Regions from separate parts of the Homo sapiens genome. Here all the other regions are linked to region 4. Evidence: promoter capture Hi-C in 16 types of primary human blood cells and fetal thymus (Javierre and others, 2016). All regions are on one chromosome and are shown on one strand. Each heading gives the region's core, a stretch centred on a gene start or on the middle of the fragment in contact. The rest is flanking DNA. Distances are from core to core; before and after follow the strand shown. Region 1 holds the start of ARHGEF17 (Rho guanine nucleotide exchange factor 17). Region 2 overlaps P2RY6 (pyrimidinergic receptor P2Y6). Region 3 has its middle 11 kb from the start of P2RY6. Region 4 holds the start of ARAP1-AS2 (ARAP1 antisense RNA 2).

Region 1 (2,727 bases), core at 224-2,723, 610 kb after region 4:
CTCAGAGCTGGCTGGAGGAGCATGGTGTTTGAAGCCCCTGAAATCTGAATTTTAGCAGGAGCTGCTATTTCCTGACTTGCATAGTGGTCAAAGTTACTTCTCCTTCACGGTCCACAGAGAAGGGGTAATAATATTTGTCCCCAAGGGTGGTTTGTGGATTTTAAAAAATAAGTTAAATAATATTGCCCATACATTATAGGTACTCCATACATTTTCATTCGTTCGTTCATTCGTTAGTTGGGCCGGGAGGATGAATGGGATCTAGAGGCAGGTGGGAATGCGGAAGGGGATGATGCCCCAATACCGAGAACAATGTGAGACTCAGACGGAGGCAGGGGCGGGAGGGGAGCTCAAGCGAGGGATCAGCGTGAAGCCAGAGAAACAACCGACACTTTTCCTGCCAAGAAGGTGAAGCAGCTGCGGGTAAGAGTATAGGTTTGGCAGTGGGAAGTCGAGGGCGTTCCCGTCGAAGCTCCTTTTGTGTATAAGGCCTAAGAAGGGGCAGTGCGCTTTGCGAAGGTCTGAAAAAGACTAAGGGGATTAGGTAACGACTGAAAGGAAGTTTTCACAACTCTCCGTTTTTGGGGGATGGGTGCTGCTTTATCCGTCCAGGACTCCGTGCGTTGGGAAAATCACGCCGCGAGGGGGCGCAAGAGCCGCGTACTCCAGAGCAAGAAGAAAAGGCTCGGGGATCCAGGCGGAGAGTCCAGGAGAAGAGCCGCCAGACTGCAGGGGCAGGTGGAAGGCGTGGCAGCTGGAAAAGTAGGGGTGGGGGCGCGGTCGTGAAGGGTGGGACTTCTGGAGCAACGCTGGGCGGGTTGGGGGCCGGTCGGAGCCGGACAGGCGGCTGGGAGGTGGGATGGGCGGGGCGCTTGGGAGCGAGATGGGGGGACAAGGGCGTGGCTACAGCTAAATTCGCCGCAGAGGGCGGGCGGGGAGGGGGAGGGAAGGGGAGGAGGCGTGGCCTGGGCGGGGAGTAGGGCGCGACGGACCCTTCAGTTAGCCCGCGGCTCCCCGGGCTCTCCCTGGCGCCGAGTCCCACCCCTTTCCCGGCCCAGAGAGTGTGCGTCTGCGTGCACCTGAGTGTCAGTGTGTACGAGAGTTTGTGAGTCCGAGGTTGCCATGTTGGAGCCCCTGGGCAGGAGGTGTTTCCGCGCGGAGGCTGGTGGCCCGCGGTGGACGCGGCGCCCTGGCTGCGAGTCTGCGGAGCTGAGCACGCTCAGCGGTTGTGTGTGTCTCAGCGACTCCCTGGGGGCAGCTCGGCCTGCTGGGCTCCCGAGGGACCTCTCTGGAGGGCCAGAGGGTCGCCTCAGTCTGCAAGTCCTCCAGCAGGCTTTTTCTTCTTCGGCTCCTCCCTGATTCCCTCCCACCACGCGGTTCCCAGGCTCGCGCACGCCCGGAGCCCACCCCCTCTTTTGGGCGCGAGGCCCCGCCCCCCGCCCCCTTGCCTCTGCCGCAAAGTTTATTTGCAACAAAAGGGTGCCAGGAGCGAGCAGCCAAGGGCGTTGGGCAGGCGGACGCAGAGTCGAGGAACCAAGCGCTGGGATCCCGCCCAGGCGGTGCCGCGGTGCCCCTGGTCGCTCCAGCCGCGGCGGGGGCTGGGCCTGGGGGTCGGCGCTGAGGCGGGAGGGGCCGCCCGGGATGGAGACGTTGCGGCCGGTGGCCACAGAAACTTGAGCCGCGGCAGAGAAACCTCTGCTCCGGTCTCTGCGTCCTCTTCCCACACTCCCGTGCGCTGCTTTCGGCGTGGGCCGCTGCGCTCCTAGGGAGTGGGGGCGCAGGGGGGGTTGGCCGCGGCTGCCCGAGGCCAGCCCCCCCGGAGTGAGTTACGCCACTATGGCGGACGGGGCACCCCGGCCCCAGCTTTACCGCAGCGTCTCGTTCAAGCTGCTGGAGCGCTGGAGCGGCGGCCCCGGGCTGAGGGAGGAGGACACGGACACCCCCGGCTTGAGGCGACGCGCCTCGTGCCGGCCGACCACGGCTGCCCGGGGCCAGCCCTCTCGGCGCGTGTCCAAGCTGGCGTCTGGGCCCCTGGCCGCCCCCGCGCAGCCGCGCCCGCTCCGCAGCCTCTCGCCGTCGGTTCGCCAGCTCTCCCGGCGCTTCGACGCGCCGCGTCTGGACGACGGCTCCGCTGGGACCCGAGACGGAGGCGTCTTACCCGCGGCCGCGGAAGAAGCGGCCGAGGGCCCAGCGCGAGGAGCCTGGCCCAGCGTCACCGAGATGCGCAAGCTCTTCGGCGGTCCTGGCTCCAGGAGGCCCAGCGCCGACTCTGAATCCCCAGGAACGCCCAGCCCCGACGGTGCCGCGTGGGAGCCTCCGGCTCGGGAGTCGCGGCAGCCACCGACGCCACCCCCTCGGACATGCTTCCCCCTGGCGGGTCTGCGTTCGGCGCGGCCCCTGACCGGGCCGGAGACCGAAGGGAGGCTGCGCCGGCCGCAGCAGCAACAGGAGCGGGCGCAGCGTCCAGCGGATGGTTTACATTCTTGGCATATCTTCTCCCAACCGCAGGCCGGGGCCCGGGCCTCCTGCTCCTCCTCCTCCATCGCCGCCTCCTATCCTGTCAGCCGCAGTCGTGCTGCCAGCTCCAGCGAGGAGGAAGAGGAGGGCCCGCCGCAGCTGCCTGGAGCCCAGAGTCCGGCCTACCACGGCGGCCACTCCTCGGGCAGTGACGACGACCGAGACGGTGAGGGCGGCCACCGCTGGGGAGGGAGGCCCGGGCTCAGGCCT
Region 2 (2,700 bases), core at 196-2,695, 590 kb after region 4:
TTGGTGCTCACGTTTAATCTCTATCTGCTCCCAATCCCCAATAAACACATACTCTTAAGTACAAACTACAGCTTGCTACATGAATAGCCTCAAGCCAAGACCCCCGTGCACCCAGTCCTCTCTGTGTAGACATAATTGAACCACGTCTGGAATTTATTTGTTCATTCACTCAACAAATATTTATTGAGAACCTACTATATGCCAGACACCGTCCTAAGTACATGCAGCAGTGAAAAAAAAACACGAAAACCCCTGCCCTGGTGGAGTTTATGTTCAGTCATGAGAGAGAGACAATAACCAATAAATAAGTAGAACAGTGTATTAAAAGATTTTAAATGCTAAGGAGAAAAATATAGCAGAGAAGGGGCGTAGGAATCACACATGCACATGCGTTGCGTAGGGGTTTATAATTTTAGCTTAGAGTGGTAGGAGAAGGTCCCATGGAGAAGGTATCATTCGAGTGACCACCTGAGGGGGTCTGTCCTACGTCCCTTTTTTGAGACAGGGTCTCGCTCTGTAGCCAAGGCTGGAATGCAGTGGTGTGATCATAGCTCACTGCAGCCTTGGCCTCCCAGGCTCAAGCGATTTTCCCACCTCAGCCTCCCAAGTAGCTGGGGTTACAGGCACACGCCAACACATCCAGTTAATTTTTAAACATTTTTTGGTAGAGACAGGCTTTCTCTATGTTGCCCAGCCTGGTCTCGAACTTCTGGGCTCAAGTGATCCTCCCGCCTTGGCCTCCCAAAGTGCTGAGATTCCAGGCGTGAGCCACCACACCCGGCCTGTCCTGTGTTCTTCATGCACACTCCACAGCAGGAGCCACTGTTGCCTGCTGACCTCCTACATTGCACTCTGAATGAGGTAGTTGCCCCTTACTTTGATCTCTTCCTCCCAGGCCACCCCTTGGACACCCACAAAGTCCTCTTCCTCCCACACTGGACTGGCCACAAACAGGCCAGTTTGAGGGTGAAGATTTGGGGTTTGGCGACAGGCAGTCCTGCTGATTGGAAGATCACTGACGGATTGGTGGCCCTGGCAAGTAACTAAGCTGTTGGGGGCCTTAGTTTCCTCCTCCCAAAAGAAGAGACTATGCCCCCCTTACAGGCCCCAGGCAGGCAATGAAACAGGACAGAGGGTAGCAAAGGGTTTTGTCTTCAGGTTTGAAAACAGCCACAGACCACGGCCTCATCCTTGAGGATCCACCACTAGGTCTCCTGGGACCTGGACATGTGCCTGAAATTGCCTGGTGAGAATGAAGACCAATAGATGGATGGTCTTGGGACAACCTCTGCAGGGTGTCCTGGGGCAGCCAAGCTATATGGCCCCAGAGGCAAGCTGGACTGGTGTGGGAGAGCAGTCACTAGGGACAGATCTTGGGGCTTGGTGTGACAAAGCATATCTCCCAGTGAGCTTTCTCAAGGTGGAATGCAGTGGCCTAGGAGAGGAGTGAGCTCCCTGCAATGGGAAGTATGCAGGCAGGGGCCAAACAAGCCCAGTCAGGGAGGCTTCAGAGAGCCCCCTTCTCTGAGGGGATGATGGGGAGACCTCTGGGTCAGGTGACCTTAAGGCCTCCCTAGCCCTGAGGGTCCAGAACTCAGAGGCCTGTCATTGACCCCTGGGTCCAGCTGGACGTCTTATCACTGCCAGGTGGGCTCAGGCCCCAGGAAGAGCTAGGGATGATCAGAACAGGAATCAAGGCAGGGGCTGCCTTTCACGGGAGGGGAGGAGTTCCCTGAGGCTCCCCTTCCACACCCAAACCTTACCTGTACGAGTTGTGGACAAAACTGCCTACCTTCGGGCCTCAGGGTCTGCCTGGGAAATGGGCAGGATCATAACCCACAATAACCACTTGGCGGGGTTAGTGGTCTGCCTTTCCTGAGGTGGGGACTGGGGGACCCAAGCAGTCTCAGAGGTGCTACTCCTGAACCCATTACCTTCATTCTCCTTGACAAATCTTCTCTGTCATCAGTCAAGACAAAGATTTAAAAAAAAAAAAAAAATGGAACCAGGCAGCACCGAGGACAGAGCCCCGGCGCTCATCTTTATAGACTGGATCCAGTCATCCAACATTTCCCAGTGCCTCTTGGGCCAAAGCCTATACTGGTCTCTGAGGCTCCAGAGGCAAAGCAGACCTTGTCCCCTGTTCCTAGCAGAGTTAGAGAAGGAAAGGGAGGGAGTCTGACACCGCCCCTTCGACTGGTCTTCTTCTCTGCCCTGACTCTTGACCTCCATTTCTTTGTCCTTTCTTAAGCCACTCTTCCTGAGAGACAGGGTATCATGGTGGATTTATAGTGCACTTTGGGCAAGTTCCTAACCTCTCTGGCCTCAGTTTTCTCGTAGGGAAATGTCACCTGTCTTCCTGGGCACAAGGTGCAGATCTACAGGCAGGACTCCTAGTTTCAAGTGACAGAATCCTAGGTTAAATGGATTGAGGCAAAAAGGGAGTTTATCAGCTCATGACACCAAAGGTAAAACCTCAGGCACAGCTGAAACCAGGCACTCAATGCTGTTCTCAGGAAACGATGCATCCCCATCTCTCATCTCTGCCATTCCTTGGCTTTCTATGTGGATAGTCTCCTCCCTGGTGGCAGTATCTCCGTCGCCCAGGACAATGCCTGGAACTTAGTTCACTTGGCTCCAGCAGCTCCTGCCTCACTTTCTACTAACTTTGCAAATATTGTGGAAGACCTGTCTCCTTCC
Region 3 (2,700 bases), core at 150-2,649, 560 kb after region 4:
CAGGAACATCTTCCTCCTACTTTACCCAAACAATTCTAGTTGTTCTTGAACACAGCCTAAGACACAACTTGTGCCTTAACCACCCCTGTTCTCCCTGCTCTAGGGCTGGGTGGGCTGGGGGTCCCTCAGAGCTCCTATGTATCTTCATGTCTCTCTGGCCCAATGCCCACCAGGTTCTGGTCTGTTCTCCTCCACACTGGGCATTTCTGAAGGACACTAGCCATGAACAACTCATCTTTTTTCTTCCCCGGGCCTAGGCACATAGCAGGTGTCAGAGAATAAATGAGTGATGATGATGACTTTAAATCTCCAAAGAATTATGCCCTGGAAAAACTCCTTGGCTGGTGGAGGAGAAGTGTGAAGAAAAACAACACCAGGCCAGAGTGATCAGGGTGTTACAAAGGCCAACACTTGGACTTGGGAGCCCAGAGGAGGCCTCAGCCCTGACTGGCAGAGAGGTAGCCAGAGAAGGCTTTGGAGGGGAGGTGGCTCCTCTGTGTGCTGGCCCTGCCCATCCTCTTTGTCTTTGCAGAGTGTGCTAGGGAGCTGGGGAGTCAGGAGGGAAATAGAAAGCAGCATAGATCCCACACAATCTCACCCCTTCCTTTTCCTCAAAGGTGACCTCTACCCTGGTGGTCATTCTTACACATGCCTTTGTATGATTTCTACATTATTGTATAGAAATATACAATAATTAAAACTTTATGTGCATAGTCTCATACTGTGTGTATCCTATATATTTCTTTTTTGGTCACATTATGCTTGTGTGATTTTAGCCTTCTTGATGTGGTTGCTCAAGTTTATTTTTTGTCTGCTATATAGTATTCCATTTAAGAACATACAGTCACTTTTACTGTTAGAATATAATTCATTCCTATAATCCCAGCACTTTGGGAGGCCAAGGCAGGTGGATCACGAGGTCAAGAGATCAAGACCATCCTGGCCAACATGGTGAAACCCCATCTCTACTAAAAATACAAAAATTAGCTGGGCACGGTGGCGCGTGCCTGCAGTTCCAGCTACTTGGGAGGCTGAGGCAGGAGAATCGCTTGAATCCAGGAGGCAGAGGTTGCAGTGAGCCGAGATTGTGCCACTGCACTCCAGCCTGGTGACAGAGCGAGACTCTGACAAAAAAAAAAAAAAAGAATATAATTTATTTCTGATAACAAATTTGTGAATAGTGAAAGCTTATATTCCCAGAAATTTAAAAAGGAAAAATGTGTCACCAGCTCATCCTAAGACCCTAATTTTCCCCAAATGCCATTAAAATTTTTAAAACTATTAACACTCAGCAATGATTTCTGCACAGTATAAAACTACACTATCAAATATGATATCTGTTAGTCACATAAGGCTATTTACATTTAAACGTAAATTAATTTGGAGTTAAAAATTCCATTCCTCCGTTGCCCTAGACACATTTCTACATGTGGCCAGAGGCTACCCTACTGGACAGCAGATATAGGATATTTCCATCATCACCAAAAGTTCTAAAGCATTTAAAATACTGACTACTTCATTATCTAATAATGAATGTGCTGCATTTTCTCACTCACAGAAGCGCTCCCACATATGGTGGGTGAGGATGAGTCTCACATCTCTCACATAAGCCAAGCTTACATCTTTCACTGTCCAGCCCTCCCAATGAGCTTTGTTACATCCACATTTTCTTCTAATAATAAATAGGCTTTTCTAGGTCTTTCAGGCTCAACTACTTTCTTCTCAGGCCTTTCCACTTTCTTAGAAGACAACTATACTTAATAATGAAGGGAAGAGGCTGGCATGGTGGCTAACGCCTGTAATCTCAGCACTTTAGGAGGCTGAAGCGGGTGGATCGCCTGAGGTCAGGAGTTTGAGACTAGCCTGGCCAACATGGTGAAACCCCGTCTCTACTAAAAATACAAAAATTAGCCGACGTGGTGGTGGGCACCTGTAATCCCAGCTACTTGGGAGGCTGAGGCAGGAGAATCACTTCAACCCAGGAGGCGGAGGTTGCAGTGAGCCGAGATCATGCCACTGCACTCCAGCCTGGGCAACAGAGACAGACTCCATCTCAAAAAATAAATAAATAAATAAATAAATAAAAATAAAAAGATACAGTGCTGTGATGTACATCTTTATACATGTGCAGGGGTTTCTCCTGATTATATGCCTTGAAGTGGAATGGTTCAGTTTTAAGCTATGCATTTTCACTTTTCCTAGATATTGACAGATTGTTCTTCAACTTGGTTGTGTTCCCAGCAGTATGTAAAAATTCCTGCCAATTCAAACAAAGTGCGTTTGGTTTCAACCAAATAATTGGTTTCAACGTTTGCTGAATAACCAATTATTGGTTGAAGCCAAGCCAATTTTGTTTTAATTGAGTAGAATCAGCAGAATCAGGAGCACTTCTGTATGTGAGAAAACGCAGCACATTCAGTGTTAGATAATGAAGTAGTCAGTGTTTTAAATGCTTTAGAACTTCCTGTGATGACGGAAATATCCTATATCTGCTGTCCAGTAGGGTACCCTCTGGCCACATGTAGAAGTGTGTCTAGGGCAATGGAGGAATGGAATTGGTTTCAACCAAACCAATTATCAAACTTTAAAAAGTTTGATAATCAGATATGCATGAAATGGTATCATTTCATTTGGTTTTAATTTAGATTTCCCTGGTTGATAGTCAGGTTGAACATATTTTCTTATGTGTATTGGCCATAA
Region 4 (2,700 bases), core at 35-2,534:
TGCCCCCTCCGCACTGCCTTGGCGCTTGTCCTTATTCTGGTCCCCTAAGAGGTGGTGGAAAAGTCTTGGGCTGGGGCCTCAAGAGACTGGAGTCGGCCCTTGTGCAGCCTCCGTTTGCTGTGTGACTCTGCGGAGGTCCTCCCCTTCTCTGGGTCTATTTCCCTGTCTCCCCAGTGGGGGATTGTACCTTATAGCAACCACAGTCTGATTTGCCCAGGAGTACTCACCCATGGGTGTCAGGAGGGGGCACTGCCAGGCACACAATCTCGCTGGCCCGAATCTCTCCATTGGGGGTCACTGCCCGCTCATTCTCAAAGTAGCTCAGGACCCCGTCACCAAGGACACACCAGCGCCGGCTGAACTCTGGGGAGAATTTGGGCAGGGGAGCCATCAGGGAGCCCCCCACCACCTGAAAACCACCTCTGCATCCTCCCGGGGCTCCTGCTCCCATCTGACCCATGAGCTCTTCATTCTCTCAAGTTTTCCCTAAATCCATCCACCTCTCTGCATCCCCACCACGCTAGCCAGCCCACAAGTCATCCGCTCCCCCAGGCCTCTGCAGCAGCCCCTTCCAAAATCCCAGAGTGATCTAGCTAAAATCAGACCCCATCCTTCCTCTAACCAAAACCATTCCATGGTCCTCAGGACAGACTCTGTGCCCCTCAGCCTGCCATTCAAGGCCCTGCCAGGTCTACCCCTGCCCGTCTCTCCAGCTGCCTCTCTGTCACTCCTGGACACACACATCCCTACCCAGCACTCCCAGCTTTTGCAAACCTTGTCCCCTCTACCCACCACCTGAATGTCACAGGAAGCCTTCTATGCCCCAACCTCCTTTTCCAGAAGCATCTATCACTCTGTACTCTGCCTCCTGCTACAATGGCTCTGAAGGACTGGCAAGGTCCCATAAAAGAAACAGAAATGGGAATCTGGACCAGGAAAGGTAATGGAAAGGATAGGCTGTCATGGCCATGCAGGCTTGTACCGTTCACAGCACTGAGCTTTACAGTGGCTCAGAGCTTCCTGGCATCCAGGGCAAAAAGGATGACTCAGGCAGTTGTTACATAAATGACATTGTCAGGCAGAGGGAGGCAGACCTGGGGCAATGAGGTTGTGAACAGCATGGAGTTCCAAAGAAATCTCTTTGGGAGTTGGAGGGCTTTGTCCCCGTAGGAAAGCATGCAGGAGGTGCTGAGGGATGTTGTCAGCAATGACCTCACAATGTTCCCACAGCAGACTCTGTCTCTCATCCTGTCTGTGAGGGCCTGACATGTGCTCTTTGAGAGCAATGTGTCCTCAGGCCTGTCCCCGCAGGTGGGCTCCCTCCAGGAGCACCAGCTCTGCCTGAGTCATCCTTCATTCTGCAGGTATTTGCCAAGTGCCCACTGTGTGCTAGCCACTGTTCTAGGATCTGGGGGCTACAGGCAGTGGTGGCCAAAAGGAGTTTATGTCCCAGTGGGGTACAGAGAATCTATAGATAAGTACATTAATGGACAAATGAGTACCAGGTAAGTGGTGTGAAGAAAATGCAGGGTAGCCAGGCGTGGTGACTCACGCCTGTAATCCCAGTACTTTGGGAGGCCAAGGCGGGCAGATCACCTGAGGTCGGGAGTTTGAGACCAACCTGACCAACATGGTGAAACCCCATCTCTACTAACTAAATTAGCCAGGCATGATGGCGCATGCCTGTAATCCCAGCTACTCGGGAGGCTGAGGCAGGAGAATTGCTTGAACCCGGGAGGCAGAGGTTGCGGTGAGCCAAGATCGCGCCATTGCACTCCAGCCTGGGCAACAAGAGCGAAACTCCATCTCAAAAGGGTAAAGGGAGAGATGGGGGGTGCTATTTTGCATAAGGTAGTCAGAGATGACATCTCTGCAGGAGTGATACTGAAACAGAGACCTGACGGAAGTGAGGGACTGGCCATGCAGATACCTGGGGGAATGCATTTCAGGCAGAGGGAACAGCACAGGCAAAGATCCTGGTAGGTGACGACGTGTCTGAGAAACAGTGAGGAGACCGGCAGAGTGATTAGGGGGGTGGTTCAGAGAGGTAATGGGGGTGGTGGCCAACTGTGCGGGCTCTTGTGGATTTTCTTCTGAGTTGGGGAGTGAATGGAAGGCTGAGATCAGATGGATAGGGCTTTCGTTCAGTCCTCAAACTCCCTACCAGCCACAGGCTCTTACTACCAGATGCTCAGCAGAGCCCATATCCAGTAGGGGCTCAATAAAGGCTCATTTAGTCCAAAGAAACTCTGGCACTGACCTGCTCTGCAGTGTCATGCACTACCCCCACTCCCACCAGGATCATTTAGGAAGTACCTACTGTGTACCACAGACTATATCCAGGAAGCCCTCTAGGGTGACTCTGCCAGAGTCCACCAGTCTGGCCAGCCCTGGCTTCCCTAGCCCTGCAGCCGTGACCAGATGCCATGGGCTAAAGCAGAGTCTGGGGTGGCACCCACCTTCCCGGGCCCGGCGGTCCTGTAGCAGCTTGCCGGCAGAGGCAGTCTTGTAGAGGAAGCCACTGTGGCTCACGGTCGGCAGGACAACTGAGTAGTGCTTTTCCAGGGGCTTCATCGAGTCCAGCCGAGGCACCTCTTTGTAGGCGGGGAAAGGATGGCAGGTCATGCTGGCCACCCAAGAGGGTGTCCCCACCTCACTCCCACCTGGCCTGGGCATTCAGGCTCACTTTCGAATCATCAG

Evidence for each region. Contacts are between HindIII fragments. The CHiCAGO score rates a contact against its expected background, and 5 or more counts as called.
Region 1: a contact is called between the fragment with the promoter of ARHGEF17 here and the fragment with the promoter of ARAP1-AS2 in region 4, in 1 of 17 cell types (neutrophils). The highest score is 5.9, in neutrophils.
Region 2: a contact is called between a fragment that was not itself captured here and the fragment with the promoter of ARAP1-AS2 in region 4, in 1 of 17 cell types (neutrophils). The highest score is 7.1, in neutrophils.
Region 3: a fragment that was not itself captured here is called in contact with the fragment with the promoter of ARAP1-AS2 in region 4 in 1 of 17 cell types (endothelial precursors); the score reaches 5.3 in endothelial precursors.

What each region holds. Positions count from the first base shown.
Region 1 is chr11:73,306,803-73,309,529 of GRCh38, forward strand. ARHGEF17 (Rho guanine nucleotide exchange factor 17) reads left to right here and starts at 1,474. Exons shown (of 21, transcript NM_014786.4): 1 at 1,474-2,727. The coding sequence starts at 1,837. It overlaps ARHGEF17-AS1 (ARHGEF17 antisense RNA 1), which reads right to left and starts at 2,559. Exons shown (of 3, transcript NR_147696.1): 1 at 1,870-2,559; 2 at 1,080-1,762; 3 at 709-754. RefSeq lists silencers at 846-985, 1,386-1,715, 1,946-2,165 and enhancers at 1,586-2,463, 2,469-2,727. The HindIII fragment of the contact is 10,810 bases long and covers 1-2,727 here.
Region 2 is chr11:73,284,591-73,287,290 of GRCh38, forward strand. All of the region lies in intron 1 of P2RY6 (pyrimidinergic receptor P2Y6), which reads left to right. Among named protein-coding and RNA genes, the nearest start is that of P2RY6, 14 kb to the left of the region's middle. The HindIII fragment of the contact is 4,518 bases long and covers 1-2,700 here.
Region 3 is chr11:73,259,819-73,262,518 of GRCh38, forward strand. No RefSeq gene overlaps it. Among named protein-coding and RNA genes, the nearest start is that of P2RY6, 11 kb to the right of the region's middle. The HindIII fragment of the contact is 428 bases long and covers 1,186-1,613 here.
Region 4 is chr11:72,699,190-72,701,889 of GRCh38, forward strand. It overlaps ARAP1-AS2 (ARAP1 antisense RNA 2), which reads left to right and starts at 1,285. Exons shown (of 2, transcript NR_146780.1): 1 at 1,285-1,364. ARAP1 (ArfGAP with RhoGAP domain, ankyrin repeat and PH domain 1) reads right to left here. Exons shown (of 35, transcript NM_001040118.3): 16 at 2,460-2,594; 17 at 228-363. RefSeq lists a silencer at 1,831-1,930. The HindIII fragment of the contact is 37,247 bases long and covers 1-2,700 here.